Linked DNA regions of Homo sapiens: all the other regions are linked to region 3. Evidence: promoter capture Hi-C in 16 types of primary human blood cells and fetal thymus (Javierre and others, 2016). All regions are on one chromosome and are shown on one strand. Each heading gives the region's core, a stretch centred on a gene start or on the middle of the fragment in contact. The rest is flanking DNA. Distances are from core to core; before and after follow the strand shown.

Region 1 (4,339 bases), core at 1,336-3,835, 280 kb after region 3:
TCGTTGAATCTCTGACCCTCTTGAGTACAGACAGCAGCTATCAAATACTAGGCCACAATAAATGGTGGTGAATTGAACAGAACTGAGTATGAATGGGTGGAGGTTCAGCATGACACAGCTACTCACAGGGAATAGACTCTAACACTTAGCATCAAAGAACATGACTGCCACTTTCCTTGAGGATGTATTAACAGGATACCAGGTTCGTTAACATCCATGGCCAGAAACTTCCCTTTTCCAAGTTCTGTGATTCAACAGCAACACTTAAGGCACTTTGAGACTGACTGAGTGGGGTGGGAAGTCCCTGGAGTTTTCCATGCGGGTGTTACATGATAACAGACACGTTTTTAAAGCATCACTATGCCTACAGTGTAGGAAAATAGAACAAAGGGCAAACATGGATACAGGAAGACAATTGAGGTTTCAGAGATGAGAAACAAGGATGGCTTGTGTAGGGTGTGGACACAAAGGATTTGGCTCATGGATTTGGCGTGTGTTAGCAACAGGTGTAGAGTGAAGGATAACTTATTGGTTTGGGCCCAAGTGAATAAAAAAATGGAATATTGATATTTGGAAAACTTGTCGGTAGCAGAAGTCAAGAATTCACTTAAGATAATTTGGAAATATCTATTAGGTATTTAAGCTAGGCCGGGTGCAGTAGCTCATACCTGTACTCCCAGCACTTTAGTGGAGACCAAGGAGGGTGGATTGCTTGAGCTCAGGAGTTTGAGACCAGCCTGCCAACATAGCAAAACCCCATCTACCAAAAACACAAATATCAGTTGGATGTGGTGGCACATGCCTGTAGTCCCAGCTACTTGGGAGGCTGAGGTGGGAGGATCACGGGAGGCTGAGAAGTTGAGGCTGCAGTGAGCCGTGATGGCACCACTGTGCTCCAGCCTGACTGGCAGAGAGGCCTTGTCTCAAGATAAATACATAAATACAGAAAGATATTGAAGCTATATGTAAAGTCAATTGTACTTCAGATTAGAGTTCTGAACATAAAGCATACATTTAATAATCAGAGTACGAAGAGCATTTAAAAACAGGTTTTTTGAGAGTTTTCTTAAGAGAAAGCTTGAGACTGAGATCTGAGGCAGCTGGCGTCACATGAAAAATTAGAAAGATAGGGTTTTATGAGGTTAGAAGAAATCTAAGACAAAGTGTTTAAAGAAAGTAAAAGCAACTGCAACAAGTGCAGTCTATGGTTGAAATAAGTGAGATTTGGTTACTGTATTTAGCAACATGAAAGGTTACTTGTAACCTTAGTGACCATTTTTAATGGAGATATGCTTAGAGATGATTCAGGGTAAAATCAAGGGGGAGGAAGTGGATAAGGTAAGTTGAGTATGAATTTTTAGATTTTTTTGTAAAGGAAATGGAGTATAACTAGAAAAACGTGATACCAATGTGTTTGATGTTAATGGTGCTGTCATGTGATATTGAGTATGAAGTTCAAAGGAATAATTCAGTACAAAAAGAAAATCGATATATGAGAAATGGAGGAAAGTTTCAGAAAGATGGCCTTTGAGAGTGGCCGAAAGCACAGAAACCAGTTTAGAAGTGGAGAGTTTGAACTTTTGTAAGAGCATGGCCAACTCAGTGACAATAGCAGGAGGTCAGGCAGAGCGTGTGTTATAACTAAGATCCCTTCCGATGGTTTGTATCTTCTCGGTGCAGTTAGAATCAATGAGAGCGTCTATGAGTAAAGATCAGGGTGGTCCCGTCAAAAGTTTGAGAGGAGAAGAGAATCATCTTGGAGAAGAGGTAAGTTAATAAGCTAGTAGAGACATCTGGGTTGTAGGACAACCTTCGGACTCCCCCTCCTTTGCATTGAATTTATGAATTTAGCACAGCACATTTGTCAGACGATTCATGATGTGTGTTCGGGATGGTGGCCAGAAAATAGTAGGCACTCAATATGTTAACTAGAATTATGTTAAAAACAAGGACAAAATAACAGCAGCAACTGCTGTTACTACTACAAACTTATTCCTTTGTGAATAAAGTGTGTCATATTTATGCTTTTCCAAGGCATATAATTTGCAGTATGTAATAGATGTTCAGTAGCTGTTTATTTCAATAAATTTGTCTCTTTGGGCAATTAAAAGTTGTATAGGCAGAATTCTTCATGGTGTGGAGTTTCTTGTATAATATGGCATGATTTTGCATTATAAGGTGACACTGTCACTTCATTTCAAAATGTTAATTATTTACGTTTAGAAGTTAAATTCCACCCTACTCCTAAAACATTCTCTCTGTAATCTTGGCTTTGGTGGTGGCTTCTCTGGTGATGGGTTCCCATTTAGCGTGGGAAAATGTCCCTGCTCTGAGTGTCCTAGTTGTAGTTGGCACCAAGAGGAGATGGGCACACAGATTTCACTAAAATACTGTGTGATACCAGCATATATGCCCAGCAACAGATTGTTCAGATGTTGAACAGCTTTTTATAAGGTTTTTTCCCCATGAATATTTAACTGTTCTTTAATTATTTCCACCCCATCTGCCAATTTCAAAGGCAATTTAAGGGTGATAAGGCCATATGCTTGGAGCTTGAACCCCCTGGAGTCTGAATATTAGCCTATTTCTTTCTGGGCTGTGTGCCCTGAGCATGTTACCTAACCTCTCTGTGCCATAGTTTACTATCTTGCTCAGAGTCTATCATAGTTGAAGAATGAGGAAGAGGCTTCTTAGAGCAGATATTTTCTAAGCCTACAACTGTTGCTCCTTCAGGCCATGGGGGCTCTGCCTGAGTGATCTAGCCAAGCCGTCTTCTGTGGGTTCCCTGGGCAAAGCTCTCATCAGGAGTTCCTTGATTCGTTGAATAGCTTCTACCTCAGGTACTGCACTGAGACATTTGCGATTGCGTCTAAGATGGTTATATATCTCCCCACTTTCTCTTGGCTTGCTGATCTATCTGTACAGGAAGAAGAAATCTATACATGAATATGAAGTCCCAAGTGATTGTTACTATGGGACACCATGACATCCTCCTCCTGACACCTTGTGGCCAGTTAGTAATATGACATTATCCTAAAACAACACCATGTGTTCTCTATTCTTTAAAACTGCATGTATCATTAGGAGAATAAAAAAAAAAAAATGAATAATATCGGTACCTTTGGACTGATGGTGACATCATTTTTGTTATTAAACATTTTCTGCATTTTAGCAGTTATTTTTACTCTGTAATCCCTCCAGAATCAATTGGAAAAAATACAATGAATTGTATAAAAACCTTGAATCTATGATTATTTATTGCCAAATAATTTGCCAAAAAGTTTGTTTCTCCATATATATTTCTGTAATTATAGATAGAATTTAATAGCTTTAAATATTATAGTTAATATCCCTCACTTTATTTGGTAAAACTTGAAAAGTTACTGAATTTGCTACAACATAGAGGAAAGAAGTCTTTGCTTGGGGATATTTAATTCCAGCCACTTTGTAATTTTAGGGAGTGAATTGAATCACCACTTAATGACGCAGGCAACAGCAGGGCTTCTAAGAAAATCACATTATAAATCAGCGTTAATCTCTTCTTATACTATGAAATATAACACTAGAAATGCCATGCAAAACTCATTATTAATCATCTCAAGAAAACAGTTGTGAAACCATTCATGAAATAACCCCGCACCCCATCAAGAAACGGAACATAACCAGCACTCCAGGGCGCTCTTGTTTGATCACCGCACATGCCCCAGGGCAAAAACAGGCATTATTCTAAATGTCTCTAACTTTCATTTGAACTATTAGACATGCAAAAATGTGCAAAATTAGCACAATGAGCTTCCAATGTGGCCGTCACTCAATTTCTCTTAATGCTGACATTATTTTGAAACAGTTTTGCTCTTGCTGCCCACGCTGGAGTGCAATGGCATGATCTCAGCTCAGTGTAACCTCCCCTCCTGGGTTCAAGTGATTCTCCTGCCACAGCCTCTCAAGTAGCTGGGATTACAGGCACCCACCACCATGCCTGGCTAATTTTTTGTATTTTTAGTAGAGACAGGGTTTCACCATATTGGCCAGGCTGGTCTTGAACTCTTCTGTCTGCTCAATTGCACACTGATAATGTTGATGACAAGCTTCTTTCCAGGAGCAGAAGAAAGACCGGATGAGACAAATCATTCCTCCACCTACCCAGGGACTTCTGCATAATTGACTCTTCCTTGGCTCCTTCTATCTCTTCAGACATTCACCTTATCCTGTGTAAAATGTACATTTACTGGGCACTAACTGAAGTCTCACAGAAACGTAACCATTGACCTTACCACCAACCCGCCCGTCTTCCTATATGCCTTCCCCCACCTTAAGAAAATATATACGTACTGAGTGT
Region 2 (4,190 bases), core at 436-2,935, 490 kb after region 3:
GATAATAAATGCTAGCTACCTGTGAGTTTCCGTCTTCTGTCAGAGCAAGGCAGGAATTAAGCTCTTTTTCTTTAAAATGTTGCTGATTCCTTACATTTTGTTTTCCAGAGTAAAAAAAGAAATGCCTTTTCCTTTTGAGCTATATGTAGCTTACAAAATTGGTAAAACACAGATAGATTACCTTTGTCTCTCTACCTAATATCTGCCAAATGTAAAACCTGCTTAGACTCTCACTGGGCCTGATCTGTCTTCATTGCTAACACCTTGCTACTAAGGCTACATAGGCACCTTCCCTCTAGACCCAGGGGCTACTGTGGAAGAGGTGGGCAGGTGAGCTTGTAAGGGATTAATTTCAGAGACAGAATTATTTCAGAGCCTCCAAATCAAGGACAGACATCCAGATGCCTAAACAGCTGGCAAGGTAGGGGCCTTTTCCTCCTGGGCTATTACATGGCTGCTTTCCATCCATCCCAACTATAAAGAATTTTATGCTTGTCCCAGGATTAAAAGAAAATTACCAAGAGCATAACAAGAAACCTCGTCACAAAGCCTCCTGGATATACTGCTCCTAGCTGTGAGATTTATGCAGATATATGTAACTTTTTAAATCAGCCACCTCAGGACAAATGATGAAAAAGACCACGAAAAAGCACTGCAGCACAAAACAAGCCTCTGTGTTCTTTAGCTTAAATGGTTTCAACAAAATGCTTTTGTTATTTACAGCTAATTGCTAGAAGTCTGTAACAAAAATCAAGATTATTGTATTGCTCAATGCACAGAATGTATTGATAAGTCAATTTTGTAACCTTATCTTTTGGTTTTGGGCTCTTATATTGCTTAAAGATCTTAACGGCTGATAAATGCCTGCCCATCTCCATTCTCATCCAGCCCTACAACATTTAAATTTGCTATAAGTCTTTTGGCTCTAAGCCCCTTGGCCATACGGATCCCACCAAAGAACATGATGCACCTGGGGCAGATAGCCATAGCCACACACTCTGGCAACAATAGAGGACAAATAAAACTTTGGCCATCAATGTTGCCTCTGGAAAATCTTGACCTGAGGGAGAATAATGTAAACCAAAAATAAAAGTCTAAGCCCCCACCCCAACTGACACTCTCCTGGTTAAGGAGATCGCAAAGAAACCAAACAACTAGAAGAGAGTTCAGACATGACTCTTTCTACCCCCTCTCTTTGGAGTTTAGGCACAACTGAGCAACAGTAATGTTAAAATAGAGGTCCTGAGGCTGACAAAACAGACTCTCTGCAGCAACAAGATACCAAATTCTAACCTCACTCTGGCATAGTATCATATGACAGATAGCAGGTCCTGAAGAAAATCAAGATCTTTTACCCCAAAATATATTTTTGACACATTTTAGAATGGTCCTGCAAAGCCATTTCCTGTGGGGGAAATTTGCATTCTCTAGAGAATCTCCTTCCGTTTCTGGGTCTTTTATGGACCCAGAAGATACTTAACTAAGAGTCTTACACATTTTACAATCTATTCCCTCTGCAGCCTGCTACTTAGAGGCTTCGTCTATATAACAAGAACTGTGGTTTTGAAAACCATCTTACCCTAACTGAAGCATTTCTTTCTACTGATTTCTTAAGTCTTTAGACAAGGATTGACTCTTTCAACGAACTGCTGATAATAAAATCTTTGAATCCACCTATGACCTATAAGTTGTCACTTCAAGAAGTCCCGCCTTTCCGTGCCAAACCAACATACATCTTACATGCATTGATTTATGTCTTTGCCTCTAATTTCTGTCTTCTCCTTAAAATGTATATTGCCTGTAATTTCTGTCATCTTAAAATGTATAAAACCAAGCTGTCACCTGACCAATTTTGGTAAGATTATTCTTGGGATTTCTTGAGGCTGTGTTACAGGCCATGATCACTCATATCTGGCTCAAAATAAACCTCTTCAAATATTTTAGAGAGTTTGGCTTTTGTCAACAGCATATATATATACACACACACACACACACATATATATACATATATAAAAATATATATAACATACATATATATTATATGTAATATACATAATAAATATAAAAATACATACACATATATGTATATGTACATATACATATATAAAAAATATTCCCTTAACCCCATGTCACTATCCATGTATAACTTTATATTTGTTCCATTATTCAGAGCAAACTTTTGTGATTTTCTTCAATTTTTGAGCCTCCTTTCTCCTTAGTCTACTTCACAAGATATTCTGTCCAATCACTCCATCGAAGCCCCTCTGTGAAGGATAGGAACGACTGTTATCTTGCACTCTCAGGCAATCAACTTTCTGTTTCACATTACTTAAACTTTACCCAAAAACTCACATGTAGACCCCTCCCTTCTATTAAAAAGACTGTCTTTTCTAAGTTTCTACCACACCACACTCCTCTGGGTGCTCCACATCTTTTTTATCCCTTTCTTGTCACTTTTTTTGTGGTCTAGTATTTAAATATTGAAATTCTCTTGTCCTATTCTTTAATTCTGTTAACACATAATCTGCGTATCAATAATTCTGAAACCTGTCTTCACATCTACCACCTAAAATGATATCTAGACTAAAATATCTAGCTGCTTGACATTTTTATTTAGATATTCAATAGACATTTCAAACTTAACATACTCATAATAAAGCTCTTAATCTTATACACACACCCCACATTCCCCTGCAGATGACCGTGCTCATAAGAAAGAATATTGATGCATAAAATCATTGGATTGAGGTAAAACAGAGCTTTTTGGGGTTTTTTTCTGTGTTTTCTTTATTTTTATTATTATACTTTAAGTTTTAGGGTACATGTGCACAATGTGCAGGTTAGTTACATATGTATACATGTGCCATGTTGGTGTGCTGCACCCAGTAACTCTTCATTTAACATTAGGTATATCTCCAAATGCTATCCCTCTCCCCCCGACCCCACAACAGGCCCTGGTGTGTGATGTTCCCCTTCCTGTGTCCATGTGTTCTCATTGTTCAATTCCCACCTATGAGTGAGAACATGCGGCGTTTGGCTTTTTGTCCTTGAAATAGTTTGCTGAGAATGATGGTTTCCAGCTTCATCCATGTCCCTACAAAGGACATGAACTCATCATTTTTTATGGCTGCATAGTATTCCATGGTGTATATGTGCCACATTTTCTTAATCCAGTCTATCATTGTTGGACATTTGGGTTGGTTCCAAGTCTTTGCTATTGTGAATAGTGCCCCAATAAACATATGTGTGCATGTGTCTTTATAGCAGCATGATTTATAATCCTTTGGGTATATACCCAGTAATGGGATTGCTGGGTCAAATGGTATTTCAAACAGAGCTTTTTGAAAATGTTAAAGTTTTGAAAACATTACCCAAAGATTATTTTTGAAATGCCAAGATGCATAACCCAAAAGGAAAGTTCATAAGATGTATCCATCACTAGCCATTAAAAAGTACTTTAAATCAATAAAAGTATCTATCGCTAGCCTTTTCTAGGTGTTGACTTATGATATCTTCCGTCATTGAGAGTCAAATATAGTAATAACTGCTTTCTAAATGCTACTGCTTTTTGCTTTTTTTTTTCTTTTCTGAGACAAGGTCCCACTCTGTCATCCAGGCTGGAGTGCAGGGCACGATCATGGCTCACTACAGACTCAACTTCTCGGGCTCGATAAATGCTACTGCTTTCTGAAAGGCAAAACTCATCATGCTGTTATCATCTCTTGCTTAACTTGATACAATCAAAGCACAATATTCCTCAAAAACATAAAAAATAAATTAAAAGTATAGAAATGTCTTCACTCCATTTCAACAAATAGATCCACTATCAATTTTGTTGCTCAAGCTTAAAACCTGGGCACTCTTCTGGATTCTATTTCCTTCAGACCTCATACTTTATTAATCATCGCCTGTTATTCACACCTTCAAGTGCATCCCAGTGATACTACTTCCTGTCACCTCTACTCCTAAAACTCTAACCCGTGCTGAAAATGTCTCTCTTTAGAACGCAGGAAAAGCCTCCTAACAGGTGTTTTTAGTTCATTCTTTATAAAGCAGCTAGAGTAGCATTCTCAGAATGTTATTTATAATCTGTCTTTTCTTTGTTTGAAACCTCTCAATGGTTTTTCTTTGCAAATTAAGTCAAGTTCCAACTTCTGTACCACAGCATGAAAGGCCTTTTCTGATCTGGT
Region 3 (4,092 bases), core at 981-3,480:
GAGAAAGCTGATCGGGGAAGCCTCCTAGATTTCAGGCACCCTATGGCTGGTGCACAGAGGTGCCATTCACTAAGCCTAGCAGCACTGGGAGGAAGAGCAGAGGGTGGTCACGAGCTGCCCAGAGGTCCAACTGGGCATTCTCAACTGAACTGGCCCAGGCACTCAACAAAGAAAAAGCAACTTGGTGTGAGACCTGGAGCTCCCCAGGCCACTCTAAAGGGTCCTAGGGGATTGGGAGGTGGGAGAGCTGCTGTTTAAAATGTAAATTTCTCCAAGGAAAGACAGGACAACTAAATGCTGTCTTGGAACCTAAATTACAAAATGGAAATAGGTGAGAGTAAAGAAATTCGAATAAGGCCTGTAGGTGTTAATATCCTGGTTTTGTTGACTGTTTTGTAAAATAAGATGTTAACCCCTAGGAAATCCAGACGAACCGTACATGGGAATTTTTGCTTGTTTCACAACACTCTGAAACTCTGAAATTAATTCAAGATAAAAATTATTCAAAAGACATTTTATAGATGTAAATGCCCCAAAGCTGAGCCAGGTGCCTAACTGTAGGGAAAAGAAAGAGAAGTCAGACTGCTACTGTGTCTATGTAGAAAGGGAAGACATAAGAAATTCCATTTTGACCTGTACCTTGAACAATTGCTTTGCCCTGAGATGCTCTTAATCTGTAACTTTGCCCCAACCTCTTTGCTCCAACCTTGACCTCACAAAAACATGTGTTGTATGGAATCAAGGTTTAAGGGGTCTAGGGCTGTGCAGGACATGTCTTGTTAACAAAATGTTTACAAGCAGTATGCTTGGTAAAAGTCATCACCATTCTCTAGTCTCAATAAACAAGGGGCGCAATGCACCATGAAAAGCCACAGGGACCTCTGCCCTGGAAAGCCGGGTATTGTCCAAGGTTTCTCCCCATGTGATAGTCTGAAATACAGCCTCGTGGGAAGAGAAAGACCTTACCGTCCCCCAGCCCGACACCCGTCTGTGCTGAGGTGGATTAGTAAAAGAGGAAAGCCTCTTGCAGTTGAGATAGATGAAGGCCACTGTGTCCTGCCTGCCCCTGGGAACTGAATGTCTCCGTACAAAACCTGATTGTACATTTGTTCAATTCTGAGATAGGAGAAAAACTGCCCTATGGCAGGAGGCAAGACATGTTGGCAGCAATGCTGCCCTGTTATTCTTTATTCCACTGAAATGTTTGGGCAGAGAGAAACATAAATGTGGCCTACGTGCACATCCAGGCATAGTACCTCCACTTGAACTTATGACATAAATTCTTTTGCTCACATGTTTCTTTGCTGACCTCCTTATCACCCTGCTCTCCTACCGCATTCCTCTTGCTGAGATAATGAAAACAATAATCAATAAAAACTGAGGGAACTCAGAGACCGGTGCTGGTGCAAGTCCTTGGTATGCTGAGTGCCGGTCCCCTGGGCCCACTGTGGTTTCTCTATACTTTGTCTCTGTGTCTTATTTCTTTTCTCAGTCTCTCCTCCCACCTGACAAGATATCCCACAGGTGTGGAAGGGCAGGCCACCCCTTCACCCAACAGCTCAGAATGGCTTTTGTGGGATACGGAAGAACCCTCCCTTCTCTTCACCTCACTAGCAAAAGAGAAAGAAGGGCAAACAAAGACCCTCAGAAACCTCAGCAGCTTCCCAGGCAGACGCAGTTAAAAACGACCCGCCCCCAGCGCGCCCCGGCACAGAGCCACCCCGCCCCAGGATGTGACGTGGCATTCGCAGTCCCGCCGCCAGCCTCAGGCCGCCCGCCTCCTTCGTCCCGCCCACCCCGCCCGAGCCTGCCCTGGTCCCTCCCACCCCGCCCTGAATCCATCCCTCTTTAGCCCGACCCCGCCCTGGTCCCCACCCACCCCGCTCCGCCTCCCGCTCAGCCGGCCCGGCCTCCGGCCTCGCACCCCAACCCGCAGAAGGAGCGCCCCCTTGCGGCCCTCGGAATCCCATTGTTCCTGTCCTGGTCCCGCCAGCCCACCGTCGGCGCGCAGTGGTGAGGACGAACTCCTCGGATGCCGCCGTTGAGAAAACGCAACATCAACGCCAACCACTCCTGTACTCAAGCGAAGCCCTGCCTGCAGCGCGAGCACACTGAGGCCTACCTGCCCTACCCCAGACGGAGACTCGCGAGCCCGAACCGGACCATGAGCCGCGCCGAATCGGAGCGCTGCGCCTGCGTTGGCGTCGGGCGTCGCGGCCGCGCAACGTCCGGCACCAGAGGGCTCGCTGCACCTCGGCCGGCCTTCCATGCCACGCCCCCGGGCCAGGCCACGCCCCGGCCCGAGCGACCATCGAGACTCCAGGACCTCCGCGGCGCCTAGAGGGATCCCGAAAACGCCTGCGAGGCCAGAACGGCCGAAATAACCCACCCCAGCGGGCCAGCTCTTCCCGCCACTCTCCCTTACCCTCCCACCCCTGTCCTACTTTGGAAACCTTCCTCGCTCCTTCCTAATCAGGAGAGCATGGGGACTTTCTAGGGTAGTGGTTCTCAAATGTGCCCCCAATCTAACAGCAGCTTCACCTGGGAAATCGATGGAAATGCAAATCTTGGGACCCCACTACAGGCCTTCTGAGTAAGAAACTCTGAGGGTGTGCCCAATAATCGGCCTTACCAACCCTGAAGGTAATTGTGGTACAAACTAGGGCTTGAGAACCACTGCTGTATGGCAGGGTTTCTCAACCTCCACTCTTGACATTTTGGGCCTGGATAATTCTTTGTTGAGAGGGAAGGAGGCTGTCCTGTGCATTATAGGAGGCAGGGTCACGGATAAAATACAGTTAAATTTGAGTTTCAGGTAACAGTGTTGTTCATCTAAGATTCACATTTAACTGGAAGTCCCTGTATTTCATCTGGCTACCTTGCCTACCTATATTTTTACTTGGTAAAAATAGAACCTTAATTGTAGGATATTGAGCATCCCTAGCAACTAAATGCCAGTAGCACACCACACTCTCTCCACTCTAGTTATGACAAATAAAAGTATCTCCCCCTACTTCTTGAGAATCACGGCTCTATAAGGACTTTGTCCAGCTGAAACCCAGTAGCCCATTAGGTATATAGGACAGTGTACTCCGCAGAAAACTGCCTTGCCCTGAAAGGCTTTGAACACAGAAATCCCTGGGACCAAACCGTGTTAACATTCAAAAAGAGGGCCACTTAGTGAAGAGTTTGTATTTGCTTCTCCACACTGACACTTCACAAAGGTTTTTTGGTCACTGTAAAGTGTGTTCCAAAACCCCTGGATCAGAAGAAAAAAATCATGCTCATTTGTGAGATTCTGAAGTGAAGGGCACGTATTAGTTTGTCATTCATTCCACATATGAGCAAATTGAGAAAACAGGCAATAAGCCATGGGAAAATGGGAGTGCTACTCTAGGTAAGGTAGGGTGGTGTTTCTAACTTGCTTTGTTCCCCAGATCCTGTGTCTCATTCATTCATTCAAGTGTTAAATGAGTGTCTTCTCTGTGACAATCACTCCTCTGAGCAGTGATGTTAGAACAGTGAAAAAGAAAAGGCACAAGAGAAAAACCCTCTTGTCATTTCAGTGGGAGAACCAGACAGTAAACAAAATATATGGCATGTCAAAGTGGAAAGTGCTAGGAAGAAAATAAAGGAAGCAAAGGGGACCAATAAGACTGTTGTGAATTCAGTTTTAAATAATTTGGTCAGGGAAGGTTGGTAAGTGAGAAGGTTGTATTTGAGGGAAAAGCCAAAGAATATGAAGAGCAAATTCCCCATGCAGAATTCAAGGGGGAAAATATTTGAAGCAGAGAGAATGGCATGTGCAAATGCTCTGAGGCGAAGCAAGCCTAGCACATTTGAGAATGGCTGGAGACAAAAGAAAGTCAAAGAAATGAGGTCAAAGAGGGGGTGAGTTCAACAAGGAGTAATAAGGTGCTTGCTGGCTGTTTCTTCCATACCTTTATGATCCAGAGAGAATTCTCACTGCAATTTGGATACTTGCATATGTAATTTAAAGTTAATAAAAAGATCGGGACCAAGTGTAAGTGTTTATGGAGCTGCAAAGAGTCCATCTAGACATTTTCAGTGCATTGCTTTGAATAAAGCTAC
Region 4 (4,231 bases), core at 1,517-4,016, 300 kb after region 3:
AAGACCAAGAGAATTGTTTAAAATGCTTCCTTTGTTTTCAGTAAATGAACTGAGCTACCATTTTAACTGTTTTCAAGTTGATTGTTTTAAATTAATCCTCTCAATATAATTAAGTAGTGGATTTGCCGATTATAAATTCTAAATGTTGCCAGGCATTGGTTTATTCACTCCACAGTCAGGTGCCTGCTTTGTGCCCATTCCTATGCTGGTCACTGGGGGCACAGTAAGGACAAAAGAGAGGCAGAAAGATTTAAGACAATATCCTTTATCAGTCTGAATTAAATTGCATGTGTTATTAGATAACTAAAGATAGGAGAGACTGAAGAATTCAAAGCAAGGTTTACAGAAAAATGATGGAGATGAGGTTCTGATGTTTAAGAGAAATGATAAAAACAGCCAAATTTGGTCTCAGACATGTAACAATGGATAGGACAGAATATACAAGACAAGGCTGTAAAACATTGCGTCGCTTGGTGTCCTATGAAAGCTATGTAGCATATATAAAGGATCCAAAAGGTTTCAAATACATTTCAAAACTCATATCTGCCTAAAACACATAGGTAGCTAGGAATGGAAATACATTTACTTAAATATTTCGTTTTAGGCAACATCATATATCAAAAGTAAAAAGAAAGCTAAAGCAAAATAGAAAACATACAACATAATATCTACCAAAATTATGAAAAGTTGGTTCCCTTGAAATAAAGTTGAAATGAAATCTGATATTTCTTTGTAATAGAATTCAAATGCTACATGAGGGTCAAAGGAATCGGTATAAAGCAAAAACAGAAATCAATACTGAGGTGACAGATGTTAGAGAATAAATAGAAGATAAAAGTAAAATAAAAATATGTTAACAAATGAAGAGAAACAGCTTAAAAATAATGAAGGACCAGAAAAAGAGGCTTAAAAATCCTGAGGAAAATAAAGAGAGAGGTTAAAAAGTGTCAGTGGATTTGGAAACCAACAAAAAGGGTCAAACATAAATATTGTGGTTGAAAAATACATGTAAATGATTAGAATGAAAATGTACATGCAGATACTTTTTCAAAATGTGATATAGTATTTTCTATATCCAGATATGTCCCACAAAAATATGGTACTGTGTGTGTCTAAGTTAGAATTACTAGGAAATCTAGGCAAAATATCACAATATAGTGGTATTAGGCCGGTCTTTGAATTTTATTTATATTAAATGATAAAAAATAGAGCAATACTTAACAATATTTTAGTGGAATATCTTTTAAAAAACAAAGCCATTCTTTAAGATTTAAGAGAAAGGAAAAGTAGAATAGCCACATATATACATCACAATAAAACAGGTTGAGGACAAACCTTAACCCACCAAAGGATGCCTGGAGAAACTATAATGGAAAGGTTCCTGATAATATGTAAAAGCATTTAATAAAAACACATGAGAAAATGACTCTATATGAATAAGTAAATGAAGGTATGACTAAAATAGAAATGTAACAAACTGAGACAATATAGACTGTGATAACAATATAAAAAAATCTAGAAACTGGGGAGATGGATGTGGAAATGACTAATAAAGATGTCTCCTTCTACCAGTATTTACATGTCTTTTATTTTCTTTTATATCTTCACAAAATCCATACCTTCCTTGGCAGACCAACCTCTTTACAATTTATACTTGATGAATCAGTTAATACGGATATAATTATATGATTAAAGTATAGGGATATGCTAAAAGGTTTTAAGAGGAATAATGTAACTGAAAAACTAAAATTGAGTGCATGGTGGAGAGAGTGGCAAATGTGTAAATGTACTTAAATAGTAATTAGATTGTGGAAAAACTAGACATTTGAGCATATTATTTGAAATATAAGAGTAATCCAAAGATCTAAAAGAACAATGTGCTCTTCTGAGGTTGGAAAAAATGAATAAAATGAAAAAGTAAAAAATTTTAATTTTAAAAACCGAGCTCTCAAACACAAACACATAATTAACTATACATGGGGAGAAATAAAAAGTTAAAAAAGGAAGCATAGCAAAAATAAGGTGTCAGAAAAGAGACCAACCATTTCTAATTTCCATAAATTGAAATTGCATAATTTGCATAAATTGAACGGACAGACCTATTGAAAGAGAAAGGGTATTGAAGTAAAGGCAAAACCTAAATGTGTGTTGCAGAAGCCGAGGATACTGTAGTTGGCTTGCTTGTTTTCATCCCAACTTCTTCATATGTCTTTTGACTGGTAAAGCTGGAAAACTAAAATCTATGTATACAAACTCCATGGTATCTGAGATTCACCAGTAATTTAGGTTCTATTGATGAGGTGCACGTGAGGAGATTTAGATGGTAGAAGTGTGGAGGCCGCCTTGTTCTTTGGCTTTTTTCTTTTAGCACGGAGACGCTTTATTTTTCGTACAGCAGCTCACAGAATTGGGAGGTATGAACAATAGAACCAGCATAACAAGAATAATAAATCAACAAAGCTTGATAAAGGTCATATTGGGATTTTTGTACTATTTTAAGTGAAATCTACCTGTGTACCATGTAGAGACTTCCATCCAGCTGTCTTTGTCCAATTTGAAGAGTGTGATGATGCTTCACCACAGATATTGCACATGTTGTGAACCTTTAATTCTAGACCTGTATTTCTATGCTCGCTTTCTGGAGTAGGTTTCTTCTCACTCTGTTTTAGAATTGGTTTTTGCTGGCTTAGGGGAAACATACTGATTAATTAGTAGCCTACTCACTGAAATCTTACTAGGTTGCTTTTTATGGATTGTGTAGTTCCTGCTATGATTTATGGGAGATTTTGCATCTGAATCTTTTAACAACACTGTGTGGTAGAAATGATTATCGTCCCTACCAAGCCCTCTAGGGTCTGCCTTAGTCCACCTCTCCAGAAATCTTTGGCATTCTCCATCTCCCTCTCCAGGTGGAGCATATTGCACTTCCTCCCATTTTGGGACCACATCAAGATTATACAGTAACCAAACAGCATGGCACTTGTCCAAAAAACAGACACATAGAGCAACAGAATAGAGAACTCGGAAGCAAGGCCACAAACCAACAACCATCTGATCTTTGACAAAGCTTAAAACATAAGCAATGGGGAGAGGACTCCCTATTTAATAAATGGTACTGGGAAAACTGGCTACTCATATGCAAAAGATTAGAACTGGACCACTTCCTCACACCATTTACAAAAATCAACTCAAGATGAATTAAAGACTTAAATGCAAAATCCAAACCTCTAGAAACCCCAGAAGACAACCCAGGCAATACCTTTCAGCATATAAGAATGGGCAAAGATTTCATGATGAAGATGCCAAAAGCAAAAACTGACAAATGGAATCTAACTAAGGAGCTTCTGCACAGCAAAAGAAACTATCAACAGAATAAACAGACAACTTACAGAATGGGAGAAAATATTTACAAACTATGCATCTGACAAAGGTCTAATGTCCAGTATCTATAGGAAACTTAAATTTACAAGAAAAAAATTAAAAAGTAGGCAAAGGACATGTACAGACACTTTTCAAAAGAAGATATTCTTGTGGCCAAGAAGCATATGAGAAAAATCTCAACATCTGTGATCATTAGAGAAATGAAAATCAAACCCACATTGGGAAGCCATCTTACACCTGTCAGCGTGACTATTATCAAAAAGTCAAAAAATAACATGTTGATGAGATTGCAGAGAAAAGGGAACATATGCACTGGTGGTGGGAGTGTAAATTAGTTCAATCATTGTGAATAACACTATGGCAATTCCTCAAAGATATAAAGACAGAACTAGCATTCGACTCAGCAGTCTCATTACTTGGTATATACCCAAAAGAACATAAATTGTTCTATCATAAGGACACATACTTGCATGTGTTCATAACAGCACTGTTCATAATAGCAAAGACATAGAGTCGACCTAAACGCCCATCAATGGTAGACTGGATAAAGAAAATGTGATACATATATATCATGCGATACTATGCAGTCATGAAAAGAATGAGATCATGTTGTTTGCAGAAACATGGACGAAGTTGGAGGCTATCATTCTTAGCAAACTAACACAGGAACAGAAAACCAAATATTGCATGTTCTCACTTGTAAGTGGGAGCTAAATGATGAGGACACAAAGGGGAACAACAGACACTGGATCCCACTAGAGGATGGAGGGTGGGAGGAAAGAGAGAAGCAGAAAAAAACAGCTACTGTTGGTCAGGCACAGTGGCTCACACCTGTAATCCCAGCATTTTG
Region 5 (4,103 bases), core at 414-2,913, 510 kb after region 3:
TTTGCATATGCACCAAATATTTAAAGTGCTACTATGAGGAGGAGTCAGTCTAGGTGCTCATCAGCATTTGACTTCTTACCTGTGAAATTCCTGCATAATTCCAAAAGACCTGGATTTTCATTAAGGGAATAGGAAGAGTGGAACAAACAAAGTGAGTCTAAGTACAGCAGAAGCTCCTAGATGATCCATTTTAATTGCCTAATTTTACTGAGGGATGTTGCATCATTTAGACAAAACCTTAACTATTAAATCCAATTATTTAATTTTCAAAGAGCTTCATAAAGTAATGTATTCATGTGTTCTATATGTTCTCACATTTCTCATATCTCCTCTCATCCATGCAATCTGAATGCCACCCACTCAAAACAGCATGTGACACACATCACTAAGTAGACATCAAGGAATACAATATACATAATTTTCATAAAAATTATCCAAATATCTAATTTTATTCCAAACTGTATTCCAACAAAAGATGATTATCTGTCACTTACAGAGAGCTGAATCTGTCAGGATAGCCATTCAGAGTAGTAGATAGAGAAGGTTATGTATAATTTAGTAAATCAAAAACTTACTGGCAAACTACAACAACTTTATGTAACTAAACAAGCGATGAAGAACTAAGACTTTTTAGAAGGTTGAAGGTGATATTTTGCTAGAAGGAAAAATGATTAGATTTAGTAGACTTAAATTCTCATCTAACTTATACCAAGAAGAAAACACACAAAGCAATTCATAGTCATTGGTACCCACAACAGGAAATCCTTCAACATCTAGGCCATCTGGATGCCAAAGTGCTGTCAGCATGTTACCCTGAAGATCCAGTATGCATAGATTTCTAATTTGGATTTATGAACTTGGCATGACTGAAGGTATCCTTAGCAACTGATGATGGAGTTAGGACAAAGAGAGACATGCAACAAGTTTATTAGGAGCTATTTTTGTAATATAACTCTGCAGAAGGAAGTATTATTAAGCCAAACAAATAAATGCCACCTTAGAAATCCTTGAAACAATTTGCATTGCCAGGACAAATTGCATAAATTCTCCAGCCTTCTAGAAACATGTAATAATGTCTATTTCTTATCTTTACAGGGAAATATTTAGCAACTAAACAGGTCTGAAAAACTAAAAATGCAGGAAGAAAGCAGCAGACCAGTAAAGAGTGCCGAATTATTCTGGGTGTTCTGCTTTTGAGATCCCTGGAGCGACAAGGGAGCGCCCAGATTGAAAAGAGGCATGAGTTTAAATAGTTTTCTTTGAGGGACATGGAATGAAGTGCTCTGGGAAAGAGCAAGTTTCTTCCTTTTGGATCTCAGGAGACTTTAATGAGACGGACTTATTACAGCTAATGAGAAGTGTATTGATGGGGTGGAAAACAGTGAACATTTAAGTGACATGGGCTTTGAGAACATGTTTCAACTCCTGTGCTTCAAAGTGTAAAACTGATTTCCTGAGTGTTTCATCAGAAAGTTCTGCCAGCAGCTCTTCCTCACAGAGAAATGTGGGAACAAATGTGGAAAGCCATTAAAAAGATAAAAAGTAGCTTTATTTCTATTATATTTTAATAACATAACATCTGTTATGTTTGTTGGTAGTTTAATAATTATTATTTTATTTGAGCATAAAGGTAACGCATACCCATCGGGAAAAACATAATACCAGATAGGGTTATCGAAAACACATCATAGAGATGATTATCCTTACAAAATTGCATTTATACTGTATGTGTTTGTTTGTGTGTATGTTCGTGGGTATGTGTGTGTATGTACCAGTAAACTACAAGAGCTTTATGTAACTAAACAAGAGGTAGAGAACCAACAGAGAGACACATGCAGAAACTTAAACACTATAAATAGATATGGCATTTACACAACAACATATATGTGTGTGTGATGAGTGTCTGTGGGTTAACATGTAATTCCACAATTTGCATTGTTCACAAAATACAACATAAAAAGTGCCCCGATGTGAAATATTCTCCCAAACGTAGCATGCACTATCCACAAAGTACTATACTTTATGGATATGCTCAATATTATTTAATTAATGCTCCATTTTTATAACATACATACAGTTTTAATTCAGGGGACTAAAAAATAATGTGCTGATTAAATCCTTATGTCTAATTTGAGTATAGATTTTGGAAGTTTTCTTCATCGACTTTTCCTCAGTCAATATTATTTAATTCATTTGTGTGAATATTTTTAAAGTTTTGATTTTGTTAAGTTGCACCTCAAAAATATTATCATTTTTTATATTATCAATTCACATCTATATATCAATCATTTCATCTATCTATAAATAAATAAACACAAACACACAGATCTGGAAATTCTGATGTAAAAGGACTAGATTTAATGTTTTCTGTTGTTTTTCCTAGAAAGGTTAATTAATTTTTTTAACTTCAACTTTTTTTTTTTTTTTTTTTGAGACAAGAGTCTCACTCTGTCTTGCCCAGGCTGGAGTGCAGTGGCATGATCTTGGCTCACTGCAGCCTCCACCTCCAGGGTTCAAGTGATTTTCCTGTCTCAGCCTCCCGAGTAGCTGGGACTACAGGCATACACCACCACGCCTGGCTAATCTTGTATTTTCAGTAGTGATGGGGTTTCACCATGTTGGACAGGCTGGCCTCGAGCTCCTGACCTCAGGTGATCCATATGCCTTGGCCTCCCAAAGTGTGGGAATTACAGGCATGCACCACTGCACTCGGCCAACTTTTATATTTTTACTATTCATTTATTTAACTTCTTTTGAAAAAATCATTTTATTTATTTATTTATTCATTCCACTTTATTTGAGATTCATGGCGTACATGTGCCTGAGTGTATTGTGTGATGCTGAGGTTTGGATTATAAATGATCCCATCACTCAAGTAGTGAGCATGGTACCCAGCAGTTTTTCAACACCTACCCCCTCCCTTCCTCCCACCTCTAGGATGTAATGGTTGCCATCTTTGTGGCCAGGTGTTCAATGTTTAGCTCCCATCTGTGAGTAGGAACATCCAGTATTTGGCTTTCTGTTCCTGTGGTAATTCACGTGGGATGATGGCTTCTGGCTCTATCCATATTGCTGCAAAGGACAGGATTTCATACTTTTTTAATGGCTTCATAGTATTTCGTGGTGTATATGTGCCACATTTTCTTTTTTTTTTTTTTTTTTGCCACATTTTCTTTATCCAATCTACCATTGATGGGCAACTAGGTTGATTCCATGTCTTGCTATTGTGAATAGCATGGTGTTGAATATATAAGTACATGGGTCTTTTTGGCATAATGATCTATTTTTCTTTGGGTATATACCCAGTAATGGGATTACTGGGTCAAATGGTAGCTCTGTTTTAAGTTCTTTGAAAAACCTACAAACTGTTTTCTACATTGGCTGAATTGATTTACATTCCCACCAACAGTGTATAAACATTACCTTTTCTCCACAACCTCAGCAGCATCTGTTGTTTTTGGCTTTTTAATAATGACCATTTTGACTGGTATGAGATGGTATCTCATTGTGATTTGATTTGCATTTCTATGATGATTAGTGATGTTGAACATTTTTTCATGTTTGTGGCCAATTATATGTGTTATTTTGAGAAGTGTTTATTCATGGTATTGGCCACTTTTTAATGGCGGTGTTTGTTTTTGCTTGTTGAATTATTTAAGTTCCTTATATACTGCAGATCTTAGACCATTTTGGCATACACAGTTTGTGAATATTTTATCCCTTTCTTTTTTGGATTAAACGAATTTTTAAAATTATACTTTAAGTTCTGGGGTACATGTGCAGAATGTGCAGGTTTGTTACATAAGTATACATATGCCATGGTGGTTTGCTGCACCCATCAACCCATCATCTACATTAAGTATTTCTCCTGATGCTCTCTCTCCCCTTGCCCCCCACACTTCAACAGGCCCCAGTGTGTGATGTTCCACTCCCTGTGCCCATATGTTCTCATTGTTCAACTTCCACTTATGAGTGGGAACATGTGGCATTTGGTTTTCTGTTCCTGTGTTAGTGTGCTGAGAATGATGGTTTCCAACTTCATCCATGTCCCTGCAAAGGACATTGACTCATTTTTTTAAATGGCTACATAGTATTCCATGGCA

The links. The method cuts DNA at HindIII sites, captures the fragments that hold promoters and counts their contacts. A CHiCAGO score of 5 or more calls a contact.
Region 1: a fragment that was not itself captured here is called in contact with the fragment with the promoter of PGBD2 in region 3 in 6 of 17 cell types (naive B cells, total B cells, M2 macrophages and 3 more); the score reaches 14.1 in naive B cells.
Region 2: a fragment that was not itself captured here is called in contact with the fragment with the promoter of PGBD2 in region 3 in 6 of 17 cell types (naive CD8 T cells, non-activated CD4 T cells, total CD4 T cells and 3 more); the score reaches 10.6 in naive CD8 T cells.
Region 4: a fragment that was not itself captured here is called in contact with the fragment with the promoter of PGBD2 in region 3 in 4 of 17 cell types (total B cells, activated CD4 T cells, naive B cells and 1 more); the score reaches 8.1 in total B cells.
Region 5: a fragment that was not itself captured here is called in contact with the fragment with the promoter of PGBD2 in region 3 in 1 of 17 cell types (total CD4 T cells); the score reaches 5.5 in total CD4 T cells.

What each region holds. Positions count from the first base shown.
Region 1 is chr1:248,621,335-248,625,673 of GRCh38, reverse strand. OR2T11 (olfactory receptor family 2 subfamily T member 11) reads left to right here. Exons shown (of 2, transcript NM_001001964.2): 2 at 1-2,117. Among named protein-coding and RNA genes, the nearest start is that of OR2T11, 12 kb to the left of the region's middle. The HindIII fragment of the contact is 3,011 bases long and covers 1,080-4,090 here.
Region 2 is chr1:248,413,681-248,417,870 of GRCh38, reverse strand. No RefSeq gene overlaps it. Among named protein-coding and RNA genes, the nearest start is that of OR2T1, 13 kb to the right of the region's middle. The HindIII fragment of the contact is 4,322 bases long and covers 1-3,846 here.
Region 3 is chr1:248,904,373-248,908,464 of GRCh38, reverse strand. PGBD2 (piggyBac transposable element derived 2) reads right to left here and starts at 2,230. Exons shown (of 3, transcript NM_170725.3): 1 at 2,123-2,230. RefSeq lists silencers at 1,785-1,874, 2,285-2,344 and enhancers at 1,965-2,154, 1,679-2,600. The HindIII fragment of the contact is 4,441 bases long and covers 1-4,092 here.
Region 4 is chr1:248,605,342-248,609,572 of GRCh38, reverse strand. No RefSeq gene overlaps it. Among named protein-coding and RNA genes, the nearest start is that of OR2T10, 9.8 kb to the right of the region's middle. The HindIII fragment of the contact is 607 bases long and covers 2,463-3,069 here.
Region 5 is chr1:248,397,037-248,401,139 of GRCh38, reverse strand. No RefSeq gene overlaps it. Among named protein-coding and RNA genes, the nearest start is that of OR2T1, 4.0 kb to the left of the region's middle. RefSeq lists a silencer at 686-886. The HindIII fragment of the contact is 7,230 bases long and covers 1-4,103 here.